Regions from separate parts of the Homo sapiens genome. Here region 2 is linked to region 1. The links are contacts of gene promoters, found by promoter capture Hi-C in human tissues and cell types (Jung and others, 2019). All regions are on one chromosome and are shown on one strand. Each heading gives the region's core, a stretch centred on a gene start or on the middle of the fragment in contact. The rest is flanking DNA. Distances are from core to core; before and after follow the strand shown.

Evidence for each region. The method cuts DNA at HindIII sites, captures the fragments that hold promoters and counts their contacts. A contact is called where the count stands out against the background at its distance.
Region 2: a contact is called between a fragment that was not itself captured here and the fragment with the promoter of FGF7 in region 1, in 1 of the 25 tissues and cell types used here (H1 embryonic stem cells).

Annotation. Positions count from the first base shown.
Region 1 is chr15:49,419,730-49,427,530 of GRCh38, forward strand. It overlaps FGF7 (fibroblast growth factor 7), which reads left to right and starts at 3,513. Exons shown (of 4, transcript NM_002009.4): 1 at 3,513-3,711; 2 at 4,303-4,854. The coding sequence starts at 4,569. The region is part of intron 11 of FAM227B (family with sequence similarity 227 member B); the gene reads right to left. The HindIII fragment of the contact is 10,247 bases long and covers 390-7,801 here.
Region 2 is chr15:49,247,989-49,255,789 of GRCh38, forward strand. All of the region lies in intron 5 of GALK2 (galactokinase 2), which reads left to right. Among named protein-coding and RNA genes, the nearest start is that of GALK2, 82 kb to the left of the region's middle. The HindIII fragment of the contact is 3,816 bases long and covers 2,064-5,879 here.

The DNA of each region.
Region 1 (7,801 bases), core at 2,263-4,762:
AACCTGTGTTTCACTGTGAAAAGGACAGGTTTTTTTATTATTATTATTTTTTTATTTTTTATTTTTGTATAGTACCTCTTCACCTGGTTAACTCCCATTCATGCTGTAAAGTTGCAGCTTTAGTGGAATTCTTGCAGGGAAAGCTTACATATTGCCACTTATTATAGATACTCATGGCACTATGTATCTTTTCTTTGTAGCACTTGTCCATGATGGTTACCTTCTCTCATAAGAAGAGAAATGCAAAGGATAACTACAATTTAATGGCATTTTCACTTGTCAGACTAATAAAACTCCAAATGTTTTCACAATAAATTTTTTGAAATAAATGAGTACTCTTACCTACTGCTGGTGGGATTATAAAACTAGCACAACCTCTGTGGAGGATAAGTTGGCAATATCTTTTTTTTAATACCTTTTGTCCCAGGCAGTCTACTTCTGGAAATTGATCCTATAGATTTATTTTCGTAGTATAAAATGACATATTTTGTCTTTATTCATTACAGCATTTCTTTGGTAATAGAAAAGTACTGAAGAAAATTAAATGTTCCTCAATAGGAGGCTGCTCAAATACACTGTGATATACCCATTCGGTGGAATACCCTGTAGCTATAACAAAAACAAAAATGTGAGAAGCTTCCTAAATAATGAGATAGGAAGATTTTTCTGTTAAAAAAAAATACAAAAAAATGCATATGACGTGCTACCTTTTGTATAAAAAGGGTAAAAGTAAAAAATAATATGTATGTGTATATACATATACACACAAACATATGTATCCAGTTTGCCTGTACAAGCATAGCGAAACTCTGAAAAGATACACAAGAAACTAATAAAAAGAATTATCTATGTTTTGGGGAAGAATGAAAACTGACAGGATATGGAACAGAATAAGATGTAAGAATGAAAAGTAATGAAAATATTTAATTATGTTCCCTTCTACTGATTATATTATACATGATTATGAACGAGGCAAAGTTTTGTTTTTCTTTTTCAGATGGAGTCTCGCTTTGTCACCTAGGCTGGAGTGCAGTTGTGCGATCTCTGCTCACTGCAAGCTCTGCTTCCCAGGTTCACACCATTTTCCTGCCTCAGCCTCCCGAGTAGCTGGGACTACAGGCGCCCGCTACCATGCCCGGCTAATTTTTTTGTATTTTTAGTAGAGACGGGGTTTCACTGTGTTAGCCAGGATGGTCTCGATCTCCTGACTTTGTGATCCATCCGCCTCGGCCTCCCAAAGTGCTGGGATTACAGGCGTGAGCCACCATGCTGGGCCAGTTAATTCTTTGAAGCCAGCAATGGTGTGTTAAAAAAGAAAATTCAATCTACAAATAACAAAAAAAAGACAATAGTTCAAAGTATTCCTGTGCTTAATCTATCACTATAGGTCTATTAAAACAAGAGCAACAAACGGTTGCCAATGTATAACTTAAAACATCCAGAGGGTTACCCCATCTACAGTTGCCTAAAGTTATTCTTAGTTCCTGGAGAATTCATTTAGAAGCATAAGCATAATAAGGGCACAGTGAAATCTAAGTTTGGTTCTCCATTATAGCTGTGGTCCTAATGAATTGTGGGCCCATCCTGAATTAATAATTCTCCAATAAAAATGATAATCAAAGAATTTAAACCATTGATACAGTTCCCTTGTTGATATTAATCTGTTCATTAATATTACTTGGATCATATTTCCAAATTACAGAGTGTAATAGCATCTAATGCACTTTCATAGATCACAATTTTATTCTTTTGTTTCCCATTTTACAGTTAATCCTATGTAGCAGATATTAAGGAGGCACTAAGCACTCTTTGCTAACAAACTATCCATTTCTTTCATTTAAGTATTTAGCACTTAGTTAGCAAATGTGGACTTCTCACTTACTGATTTCTTGGTTTAAAAACTGTAGGTTCAGTATGGAACAAATGGATTTAGTAGCTCTTGAATATCTTTACACTGTAAACTTACTATTGATAACTTTTATTTCTTTAGAAGCAATATCTAAGTCCTAGGAATTCTGAGCCTGCTCATTATTGTTACCTCCCAAACTAGCGGAGTGTGATTCAGAACACAATAACATTATATTTTCTTTCCTCCTTCTCTTCCTCCTTTTAGAGAATACATGATAGGATGTTTTCAGCTTTCTAGCTTTCAACAGATGCAATGATCAAAGAGTCTGTCCCCCTCTGCTTTAATAAATGTGGAACATTCAACATTTGGCATATGAAGAGTAACTGGGTACATCTGAACTATTCTGTGCTCTTCATTCTGTTCCCTAAAGGGACAGATACAAAGAGAAATCACATAAACTATAATCCAGTTGAGTAGATTTAATTTCCTTTTCCTATTTGGTCTACATGCACCACCTGGTGGTAAAGTAGTGCATTTCACATAGAGAGAGAGAGAGAGAGAGAGAGAGTGTGTGTGTGTGTGTGTGCGCGCGCGCGCGCGTGCACGCGTGTGTGTTTTGAGGAGTATATAACATGAAAAAGATAATTTTAATATACTTTCTTAATACTGATTTAGATAGACAACACAATTATTCTACACCAAGAATCTAATACAACACTTGAGCACTACTTCATGTATAACAGAACAGGAAGTAAAGGAGAGAACTCATGCTGGAAAGTAAAATAGCTTTCACTTATTTACCTTAGCAATACATATTATAATTCCATCTCTAAATTAACATTTATTGTTCCAATATTCTTATTGAGGCAAAAATCAAACACTGATAATCAATGTGAAACCATTTCCTCCTTTTTAAAGAATAACAGCTTTTAAAAGTAGGTGCCCTGTTCCTTATATTAGTAGTGAGTATAAGTCACAGATCACAGAATTGTAAAGCACCATAGAGGCATTAGACCAATACACCAATTTTACAAATGTAGCAGCTGAGACTCTGGAACAGCAGGTAACTTGCCCGAAGTCATACTGGTCATTAGTGGTCCAACACAAATAAGAATCTAGATCTTCTCACTTTCAGCCTAGGAATATAATACATAAAAATTGTACTTATATTCATATTCAATGAATTGTCTCTGTATGATGTGATAATATTCAACTTATCTACACAGTGCTTTAAGGCACTCATATGTTAGTTAACACATACCAGTTTTGTTCTAACATTCTGAGCACAAAGAAGTAATTGAAGAAATGCATGTATCATAAAGCTATGGAAAAGATTTTCTAAGTATTAAAAAACCCTATATATATGTTCAAATGAATAATTTTCCAAGTATAATACAACTGCTATATTGCAAAGAAGGTTTAAAAAATTCCCTTTCCCCTTCTAACTGCTTCAGAACCAGAGATCTGTTTCTACAAAGTAGGTACCCACTTGTAGATTTAAGCATAAAACATGTTCATAGCTCCCTCTCATGACCATTGAATACTATACAAGCCTCCTTTTATTCTCGCTGTTGTATTCAACTAACAGCTCACTGGCTAAGTTTTAATTGCTTCCAATGAGGTCAGCAAAGGTATTTATCGAAAAGCCCTGAATAAAAGGCTCACACACACACACAAGCACACACGCGCTCACACACAGAGAGAAAATCCTTCTGCCTGTTGATTTATGGAAACAATTATGATTCTGCTGGAGAACTTTTCAGCTGAGAAATAGTTTGTAGCTACAGTAGAAAGGCTCAAGTTGCACCAGGCAGACAACAGACATGGAATTCTTATATATCCAGCTGTTAGCAACAAAACAAGTAAGTTACTGTTATTTGTCTTTTAAAACAATGCTGAATGTTTTCTAAAAGTTTATCTCTTTTTCTGATTTTAGTACTGAGCAGGAAAGTAAAGTTACAAGATTTTTGAGCCATGTAACTATAGTAATTATGCTGTAGAACATAAAGATAAGGTTGAAGTTCTCCAGAGCAATCCTGACATTTAACTTAAAAAACCTGGGCAGTTCAGGAGAAAATAATTGATTAACCACAAATGTAAAAGCATATAATAAAGAAGTCTAGGGAGAAAGCAGTTACACTTTGTTAGCAGTAATTGTAAAAACTTAATTTAAATCAATAGTTCTGAGTGCAGTATGGTTCTCACAAAATAGCAATTGGAATGAATGGTACAGTCATATTCTGTTTTGTCTCTACTCATGCATAAATTTTATAAATCTACACATAAAGTGGTAAAGATTTTGACATCCTCTGTGAAGGCTGTTTTAAATGTATCTTCAAAGAATAACCTATACTGTATTCTAATGCTACTACTTACCCACTAAAATTTACACATACAATTTTTTATCTTCCTCTCTCCTCCCCTCCCTATTCTTAATCTCTCATTGCAAACAGAAGTCAAATAGCAAACAGCGTCACAGCAACTGAACTTACTACGAACTGTTTTTATGAGGATTTATCAACAGAGTTATTTAAGGAGGAATCCTGTGTTGTTATCAGGAACTAAAAGGATAAGGCTAACAATTTGGAAAGAGCAACTACTCTTTCTTAAATCAATCTACAATTCACAGATAGGAAGAGGTCAATGACCTAGGAGTAACAATCAACTCAAGATTCATTTTCATTATGTTATTCATGAACACCCGGAGCACTACACTATAATGCACAAATGGATACTGACATGGATCCTGCCAACTTTGCTCTACAGATCATGCTTTCACATTATCTGTCTAGTGGGTACTATATCTTTAGCTTGCAATGACATGACTCCAGAGCAAATGGCTACAAATGTGAACTGTTCCAGCCCTGAGCGACACACAAGAAGTTATGATTACATGGAAGGAGGGGATATAAGAGTGAGAAGACTCTTCTGTCGAACACAGTGGTACCTGAGGATCGATAAAAGAGGCAAAGTAAAAGGGACCCAAGAGATGAAGAATAATTACAGTAAGTAATTTTAAGTACTGCTCATGAACCTTAGCAATCTGTTAATGGATCAATTTTCAGGTGATATGTTTTCTCATCTTCCTTTTGCTTCTTGGAAAAAAAATTAAATAAAATGTCACCTAATTTCTCTAAATTGAACTATGTTGAACTATGCCCCTAAAAATATCTCTTTTAACAGGGCAAATCTACTTACATTATAGTTGGACCTGATAATCCAAGCCAATTTGAAAATATATACTCCTTGTCCTGAAAATGCTCATAAGTTAAGCAAAATGTAAATAATATTATTCACACCAAAATGTGACTTAATATTGTCTAAGCAAAACTCATTAAGATATCTAATTTAGAACTTCATAAATTATCACTAAAAGCTATTTATCACTAGTTTAAAGAGTAGGGAAATTATTTTTATTAATTTGATTTTCTTTGAAATAATATTTTCATGATGTAAATTAAAATACTTAATCTGTGCTAAGATATGCATTCCTTTGCAATTGTGTATAATGATAAAATAGAAGGGAATCTGTGGTATCCTTATTCATTTGAGTCATAATGAGCTTGTATTAAGTTGATGACTTATCAACTTAGGCAGAAAAACAGATCTCTCCTAACGTTTTCCTTAACTAAATCTTTTATGTCATAAAAGTTCTGTGCTATCTTAAGAAAAATGTAAAGGTGAGGGGAAAAAAGTGGGCTGGAAGAGATGGTAATTCCATGTTTTTCAATTTAAAGCCTTACATTTTTCCCAAGAATCAGTTATTCTTCTTATGTTAAAATATCAGGGTTGTGTTTTGCATTTAATGGTTATGATGAATAACCAACTTCAATAGTATTAAATGTAATGGAATAAGATACACACCTCAACATGTACATTAAGGATTTAAAATACTTAGTAAAAATAAATTTTGTTTACATTACTAGCACTCAGAAAACATTGTTATTAATATATAATTTCATATTAATTGTTTTAAAGTCATTTGAAAAAGAATGCATGGGGAGACTGGTGTAAACATGTGCAAATCACAGTGCCAGGCTTGCAGCAATTACTCAAACTTTTGTTGCCTGTTTACTGAATGACTTTTAGGGTTCTGAACTAATCAACCAATCAATGGGAATTTCAGAGAATTATGTTTCCAATATGAAAATGAGAAGACCTTCTTTTTAACCATAATTGATATAGAATGTTAAGGCCATTTTAATGACTGGACAGTTATGGTTTTATTATTATTATTTATTATTATTACTGAGATTAATAAAGGTATCATGTTAGTTCTAGAAGATCATTCTTATTATACTAAAGTTTATCTAAGGAAATGACTATTTGGAGAAAATTTTTTTGATATCTACTTCTATATAAGCAACAGAATTTGGCTTATAATTAATTTATTTAAAAGTTGCTCAGATTTATCATGGATAATATCATGGATATAATAACAATATTATATATTATCATGGATAATATATATCAATAATAATATCATGGATAATAAAACCTGGTGGAGACGACAGAGCCTAGGTAAAAATTATGACACATGGGGCAACTCCCTGTCTACGAATGATCTGGGGACAATTTCTTTGTTTTTCTGACCCTCAATTTTTCATCTATAAAATGTGGGATAGGTACAGATGATTTCCATGATACTTTCCAGTTCTTATAGTCTATTCTATTTTAAACCGCAGAATATATTTCATAAATATAAAGAAACCTAAATACCCATTGTATAATTATCTCACACAACGAATGAGATGAAAGTAATAGGATAAGCTGTCAGAACTAATTTCAAATTATAGCAATAAGGTTACCAAACCTTAACTGTGGAATTCTACATGCTGACTACTCCTTTTGAATCCTTTTACCAAGTAATGAAAAAGCAAAAAAGTAGATGTAAAATCCAGTGAAAATGAATAGTATGCATAATTATTTAGGATCAACAATATCTTCAACTGGAATACATTTGCATATGTAAATTTTATTTTGTTTGTGTTAAAATTTCTTGAAACAATGAAACTCAGGTAGTACACATGCATAAAATGCTAAAATTATTTTATAGTTTGAAATACAATTTAGTGCTAACTTTGAGTAACCCTAAAGCCAATTTTGTAAACCATCTCCTCTAACACCAATTCTATAGCACAAAAGAAAAAAAAAGGAAGTCGCCCTATATTGTTATAAATTAGAATGTCACAATACCAGTGTACTAAAAAGACAAGATACACATCATGTAAATAATTTTTACTTCTATAAACTTTTTAATAGGCTGTATATATGGTATACTTTCTTGATATCGTTAATTATCCTGGAAAGGGAAACTTTCATCAGAATCCTTTAAGTAAACCCTAAAACTGTCGTAAGGTTATGTGGCTATCTTATTGGAGAAGGAGTCAGTAAGATTTCTCCAAAGTTAAAAAGAGGATAAGCCACTCTTTTTTTTCTATAGGAAGTCCTTAGGTACAGAGGGAAATGCTACAATGAAGAATATATGGAGAATAACATGTTAGAAGAAAATTCTGATAGCCATTTCCTATTATTTGAAGGGTAGCCTTACTATAATAATTTTAAGAGTGAATGTCCAATTGTGCTAATTGACACATGTGAAGTTGAAGCTGCTATATTAGGAAATCTAGGTTCAAAAAATGCTCAGAATTTGTTTAAAATAACAAGAATGGAAACTTGAAATTATGACATTTGAAGATTGTTTACATTCCTCAATCATTAATTGAATGAATGGACAAATAAATGAATGAAAGAATGTTTCCTTCCTATTTTCATTAAAATGAGAGAAAAAGGTAATTGGATTGTCTACTAGAATGAAATGCAGCAGGATTCTGATTAAAGATCAGAATCAAACTCAGAATTTCATTTTCAATGTTTTGATGCCTTAAATTTTTTCAACAGGTTGTCATGTCAATCACCTTTCTTTGGAGGTCTTTTAAGTTAGTATAGATT
Region 2 (7,801 bases), core at 2,722-5,221, 170 kb before region 1:
AGGTTCATAAACAGAGTAAGTGGAATGTTCAAAGTTCTGTGCCAAATATGTCCACATTTTCACTTTTCTGAGTTTACAAGTGCTGTTTCCTTGAGAAAGTACAAGGCTGTATTTTTCTTCACATATAGCTGCATTTCAGTGAAATATTTCTTGGCCTTCAGAATAAGACCTTGTGCCTAAAGAATAAAGACATGTCTATGTTATAAAATGAAAAGGATCTCAAAATTATATAAACTATGATTTGAATGTTTTAATAGTTTGTTACATGGTATAAGAAAAATCAGAAACCAATTTGCACTGTCACTAATTATTATGCTTAGAAGTCCACATAAGGACATTGTTTCAGTTTGCTTAGAATAACAAAACCTCATCCATATAATGGTTAAGGAAAATAGTAGTTTAAACCATTCCAGCCAGATGTTGAGTGCTAATGAACTGCAGCAGTATGGCCTCTGAAAAGATGGTAAATCCAGAATACAAGCTTTGAAAAGAATCTCTTAATTAGGTGTTGAACATGGACTGAAGCCATGTGCTCACTGGTACAAAAACCAGGAAGCTATAGTGTTAGCTCTGGGTGGCCTGTGTTTAAATGTGTTCTAAGTTTTAGGTTAATAATGTAAATACAAAACCATTCACGTAGTTTTGTCAATTAAAAGAGATCCTCTGGTTGTATCCTTTTTTAGGAGTAGGATTGGAGACTGAATCATTTCTTTAATGATTTTGAGTAGTTTGGATTCACTTGGGTGATGTGACACTAAGCTATTTGTCTTTGCAGACGTTGTTTGGGTCACTTCTGGGTTTTTTTTCCGTTTTCTTTCCTAGGCTAAATACTTGTTTACCTTTAGCGTAAACGAAGGCAAACAAGCATAATTAGGGAACAGCAGATTTGAGGAGTGTGTGTCACTGTTTGCAAGTGGTTTCAAATGAAACCACTGTTGCTACAAATTAATATGTATGCCTAGTTGTGTTTTGAACTTTTGTTGTGATCCTTAAATCGTTATTACTCAGTGACTGTGTTTCAAGGCCTCCAGATTTTGACTTGCACCCTACAATAAGTTAAGTGTTACACAGTATTCAAATAATTAACTGGAATAATGCAAGTGATATTAAGTACTACACATATGTGCATAGCCTTTACCTACTACATCAGTTGTGTGCATTGAACATAACTTAAAGATGAAAATACAAGGATAGATAACCCCCCTACCAAATTCAGAAGTGTTTCTCATTTATTTTCATGCATTTCTGTTTCACAGAGGTTATGGTAGCCATCTTGGTCAAGAGTTACCTATGCTGACTCCCAGACTAATATTTGATAGAGTAAGGAAGACAATGAAAGACTGACTTAACTTTGTCCCCTCTGTGGCCAATTTGCTCTGTAACTTGTGATAACTTCCCTATGCCTCAGTTTCTGTTTCTAAAATAAGGGTGAGAATAGTTCTTCCTTTAACTTCACAAGGATGACTCAGTTAAACTGGCTTAATACCTACAGTTCTCTGACCTTCCTGATAGGAGATTTTGATGAAGTTCAGGGAAAGAGTTTAGCAAGAAAATAGGTAAGGTAGGAAAATAAATTAGTAGTCAGGGAAGTTTTTGTAATTGTATGAAGTTTTGTTGACTGTATTGGTGGTATAAAAAGTAAAGTAGAGGTTCCTTTTCAAAGAGACTCTCCTCCCTGTCTAATTAGGAATAAATAGTACTTCTCTTAGAAGCAAAATTTATTCAAAGAGCTGTGCTAACATTCTTAAATATCTGCTAGCTCTAATAAAGAAATCAATGTACTTTATGTTCTTAGCTCCCACAATTTAGCCTAAATATTTGCCCTGGCATGCTTATACTGGTCCAAGCGGGCATTAGGTTATAGCCTGTTCCTCTTCCTTATTTGGAGGTGTTTTTACCTTTCTCAGCATTCCACAAGTTACTTCCTCCTTCCTTTGTTCTCGTCTGCCCGTGCCTCTTTTAAAAAGTTCTAAGTTGCTAGCCAATTGGGACAAATACAGAATGTGAGGTCCCGTACTAGCCAATGGAAACCGGACATAGCAGTAGGGTGGACGCGTCAGGTTATAAATGACTCTGTCTCCTTTGTTTGGTGTACTCTTGTGGTAAAACTGCTGGCGAGTGTACCCTTTCTGCAGAAAGTAAAAATGGCCTTGCTGAGGAAATTAAATTTATGTTCAAGTGCTATTTCTTTATGGCACCGGGGAACAAGCATTTCTAACAGTGGTCATGGGAAGAGTAAGGAGCCAAATCATATTGTGTGGAGAAGAAAGTGATTCAAAGAGAAAAGGTTAATAAATGAGACTGGTTAAAGCATGCACTGCAGTATTGGAGACACAAAGATTTGGAGGTTATTACTGCAAAATATGACTTTAAAGTTTTATGTTAGAATTTTCATGAGAGTAAAAGATGTCTTTTTAAAAAAATTACTGTTAAGCACCTAGATGTTTTATGCACATCAACTCTAACTTTGTGGTAGTCTTGTAAATAAGTTTTACTACTATTTCAATTTTGCAGAGGAAAATATGAGGCTCAGAGAATTTATATAATGTCACCAAAGACAAATCACATGTAACTGGAGTTGTCTGGATTCCAGCTCACATATTTTTGATCCAAAATGGATACTTTTCTATTCAGCCATGCTGCTACCTATGGTATAATGTAATTATACCATATTGTCTGATATAATCAGTATCATAGACATCGGAAAACCCTGGAGATGAGGTCCAGCCCTAACATTCTGTGATCCTTCTGATGTCCTAAAAGACAGGGAAGTAAATTATACATTTTCATGTATATAATTAATGTGAATTGGATTTTTTAAATAAGTTGACAGATTTTATACTCTTTGTCAAAGTTATAATGATATTTTTTTGAAATCCTACTATATCCAAAGCAAACGGTTGGATTCTCAGGATATAGGAAAACTTAGATACAGTCTTTGGGCCTTAGAAGTTTATAATTTCAGTAGGGAGATTAGATTAACATAAAAATGGAAATGTCATGCAAAAGTAGCATATACAAATTCTTCCAAAGAATACGAAAACAAAGAACACTTCCCAACTTGTATTATGAGGCCAGTAAAACCTTTCTGCCAAACCAAATGTGATAGCTTGATACCAAACCTGACAAGGACATCACAAGAAAAGAGAATTACAGGTCAATCTCTCTCATGACATTGGATACAAAAAATTCTGAACAAAATGTTCACAAATTTAATCTGGTAATATTATAGGCTAATACATTGTGGCCAAGATGAGTTTATTCTAAGAATTTAAGGTTGGTTTATCATTTAAAAATCAGTGTTATTTACCATATTAACAGTAAAACATGTCATCTTGATATATAAAGGAAAGAGTTTGATAAGATTTATCATGCATTCATGATAAAAACTCTTAGCAAATTAGTAGAATTCAGTATAATGACTGCCTTTGGGAATTAGGGAAGAGAAATGATTAGGTAGAGACATGAAGAGACCTTCTAGAGTGCTGGCAGAGGTTCATTACTTTTTCTTTTATTGTGGCAAGACCACTTAACATGAGATCTACCCTCTTAACAAAATTTTAAATGTATAATACATTATCATTGACTATAGGTGCAATGTTGTAGAGCAGATCTCTAGAGCTTGTCCAGCTTGTTTGACTGAAGCTTTATGCCAGTTGATTAGTAACTCCCCATCCACCTCACCCTGCACCAGCAACCATCATTCCACTCTGATTCTAAGTGCTTCATTTCTTAACCTTGATGGTGGTTACGAGGATGTTTCCTTTGTGACAAATTATTAAGCTTTATTTTTATGCTTTATATACTTTTCTCTATGTTCTGTACTTCCTAAACATAAAAAATAGCAAGACTTTCTTCAACCCTAGGATCAACCACTGTTAAAAGATTTTTAATGAATCCTTCCAGAAATACTCTATCCAATGTAATATATACATATGTTTGCCCTTTTTGTAAAACACCCAGGAAAATTTTATATATAAATATATGTATATATTGGCCCGGTGCGGTGCCTCATGCCTGTAATCCCAGCACTTTGGGAGGCAAAGGCGGGTGGATCACTTGAGGTCAGGAGTTTGAGACCACCCTGGCCAACATGGTGAAACTCTGTCTCTCCTAAAAATACAAAAAATTAGCTGGGTATGATGGTGAGCACCTGTAATCCCAGCTATCAGGAGGCTGAGGCAGGAGGATTGCTTGAACCCGGGAGGCAGAGGTTGCAGTGAGGCGAGATCGCACCATTGCACTCCAGTCTGGGTGACAGAGTAAGACTTCGTCTCAAAAAAAAAATTATACACACACACACATACACACACATCTTTCCCCTTGCTTTGCTTTTTCACTTAAAACCATAAATTGGGAATCATTCCATGTCAGCACATCTACATATACTGAATTCTCTTTAATGGCTGCCTTGTTTTCTAATATACGGTCATACTATAATGCCCAATTATAGATTTTGGTGTGATGGTAATGTTCTAAAATTGGCCTGACTATTGGACATTTCAGTTGTTTCCAGGGTTTTGTATAATATCAGTTTTAATACTTAATAATATTTCTTTATAAGGATATGCTATACTTTATTTAACTAGACCTCTATGATGGAAATGTAGGTTGTTTTCAAGTTTCCACTATTATAAAGAAGGCTCTGATGAATATTCTTGTAGACAATTATTTTCATACTTATTCACTTTTTTATTTAACATAAATCCCAGAACATAAAGTTACTGGGTTAAAAGATATGATAACTTTACTTTTGAAATACACTGCCCAATCCGGAAAGATTTTACCAGCAATGCAGCAACATTGCATGAGAGGATCTATTTTCCTACTACTGAAGTTCTATCAATCTTTTAAATCTTTCCTAATCTGAAAGATGTTGTCATGGCCATTTCTTTAATTATTAGATAGTTTAATTAGATAGTTTAAATGTTTAATCTTTTCCATGTCTTTTATTGATCACTTGCATTTTTTGATTTGGCTGTATATCAACTCAGCTCATTTTCTCCTGGAGTATTTATCAATCATCTTATTACTTTATAAGAACTCTTCATATGCTAACCATTCATCTATTATATGTTGCAAATATTTATCCCTGCTCAAACTAATTTTCTGTTTGACTTCTTTTAAACTAACAATTGTGAAGCAAAAGTCACTTTAGTCATATTTAATCACATATAGCATAGGATCATTATATGTGCATTCAATTTTATCTTCCTTGAGTTGAAAATACTCTATAATCTCTCATTTCATTTTGAAGTACTTGGACACAGGGAGCCTCATAGACTCAGGGATTTTACTTAGCATCTCTCAGGAGATCTCCACTAAATGGATCCCAGGGTTCTCTTGTCTACTACAGGTGTGACCTTTTATCTTTAGACGCTTACTCAGAGGAACCAAAACTGTGACTGATTTGCATTGTAAGCAGGAATATTTTTTCTTTCTTTCTTTTTTTTTGTGGTGAAAGCAAGTTTATTAAGCAACTAAAGGAATAAAAGAATCACTACTTCATAGGCAGAGCAGCCAGCAGGAATATTTTTTCCAATAGCATTTGTGCAGTAAGACATACACTTTTGAATCATGAATAATGTAACTTACCATCTGTTTAGCACTTGGAAAGTTTCAAAGAACTGTACCATGATCCATATGATAGGCCATTTAACTCTGTTAAGTAAGGTACAACTGCCAACTTCTTAGACCAGAGCCCTGCCTCTCAGAGACTTCCTGGAGCCTAGCTATAGGAGTGTTTACTTAGGACTCTAGACTTTATGTTATATCAAAGAGATATGGAAGATTTCACTTTTATAGTATATTAACATTGTCCCCATTTCATCTTTGGACCTTAAAACACCAAGCATCATCATCATCATCATCATCAACAACAACTACACAAAACTGTTGAGGGGCACAGTCATTGGGTGGATAGGCTTAGGTTCATTCAGCCCTTCTGGATCTTGGGTCAGCCACTGGTATTGACAATAGGGATGAATTTTCAATCTTGAAGGACATATAAATTTGTTAAGAATAAAAGAAGTGCAGTTAGTCTGGCAAATTGTAAATAACCTTAAAACTTTTCTCCCTAAAGAGAGATGATTGTATCACTTTCTTATGAGCATCTTTACAGTGCCTGACATAAAGGAGGCAAGTAATTGGATTGGGTTGAATTAGTGAACTACCTTCATCTGTAAAGCAGCCATTTTCCCCTAGTGTTAGTACTATATTTGGATGAATTAACAACTGGTTGTTAATTTTGACTGTATTTATATAAATTAAAGTGAAGCAAGACCCTGTGGAATTTATTTGTGACCATCAAAGACCATAAATCTCTTACATTTTAAGTAAGTTACAGAGAAAGTAAAATTGGTGATGAGTCCTGTGGTTACAAAGGCATTCAGAGATTATCTGATTATTTCTTCTTCTGATAAAATTATGTTATTGCTTTGTAAAATATAAGCAAAAATCTAAGCAATCAGGACTCTTTATGCTGTCAAGACCTTTTCATTGTAATGAAAGTGCTCCTTTTTATTTTTATAATTTAATTTGTATTTATATTTATTTTCATGACAAAATATTTTAATTCTCATCAGGTTTTATAAATAGTTCTTCAAATGTCACTATGGTTTAAATTTGGTGATAAAGCAGAGAATTTGGATAAAAGAAAATTTGGTGATAAAGGAAGAAATTTATTGGAAAAATTTAAAAGATGTAGATTTTTTAGGGATAGTTCACAGAAACCTATGTGTTAATGCAGGGTGCTTTTATATTTAGAAGTTTTCATTGATTTTCTTCAATTATTTGGGATAATATTGTTACCTATTGACAGCGATGTTACATCTCTCACACACACATGATTAGATGTATTGTTAATGTACCACTTAAAATTTTTTTCCAACTTTTAATTATGAGAAAATTTCAAAAGGATAGAAGAGGCAAGAATAGGCAATGAACATGTATGTCTTTCACATAGATCCTTGGAAACATTTTGCCACATTTGCTTTATCTTTCTCTCTACTTTTTTTTCTGAGCCATTTGGGAATTAATTGCGGACATCACCTCTGAGTACATCAATATTCATCCCCTCAAAGCAAGGCATTCTTTAATATGCCACACTATATCATTGGAACATTTAACATTGATATAATATTATTATCTAATATGCAGTTCATATTCAAATTTCCCAATTGTCTCAATAGTAATGTCCTTTAGAACTTCTTTTTCTTGTTCTTTTTCTTTCTTTCTTTTAATTTTTTCTGATTGAGAATTTACTTATTCAAGATAATTGAATACATTCTGGATCTGAAAAATTAAAAAGAAAGGAATTAAATACTACTCATAATAATACTCAGTTTTACCAATAATTGGATTTAATTAATATCATCATTGCATTTAGTTTTTTTTTCATTTTTTTAGTTTACTTTATTTTAGAACAGTTCCCCAGCATTTTTTTGTCTTTTATGACACTGACAATTTTGAAGCGTCCAGGCCAAATTTTTTTGTTCAAATTTCCTGAATTTGGATTTGTCAGACGGTTGCCTTATTATTAGATTGAGACTAAGGTTTTTTGCCCCAAGAATACTGTATAGGTGATGGATGTCCTTCTTGGTGAATTGCATCACATGGTTTCTGTTTCTCCAATTGTACTTAACATTATTTAATACACAGAGATAGGTAGAGATCTGCTGTCTATCAAAATAATGCCATAGTTTAGGTATGTCATATGAATTCCCCTTTATAAAGGTGGAGTTTTTGTTAATAAAAGTTCTTTAAAAGTGTATTAAAAGTGATGATAGAGACTATAACATAG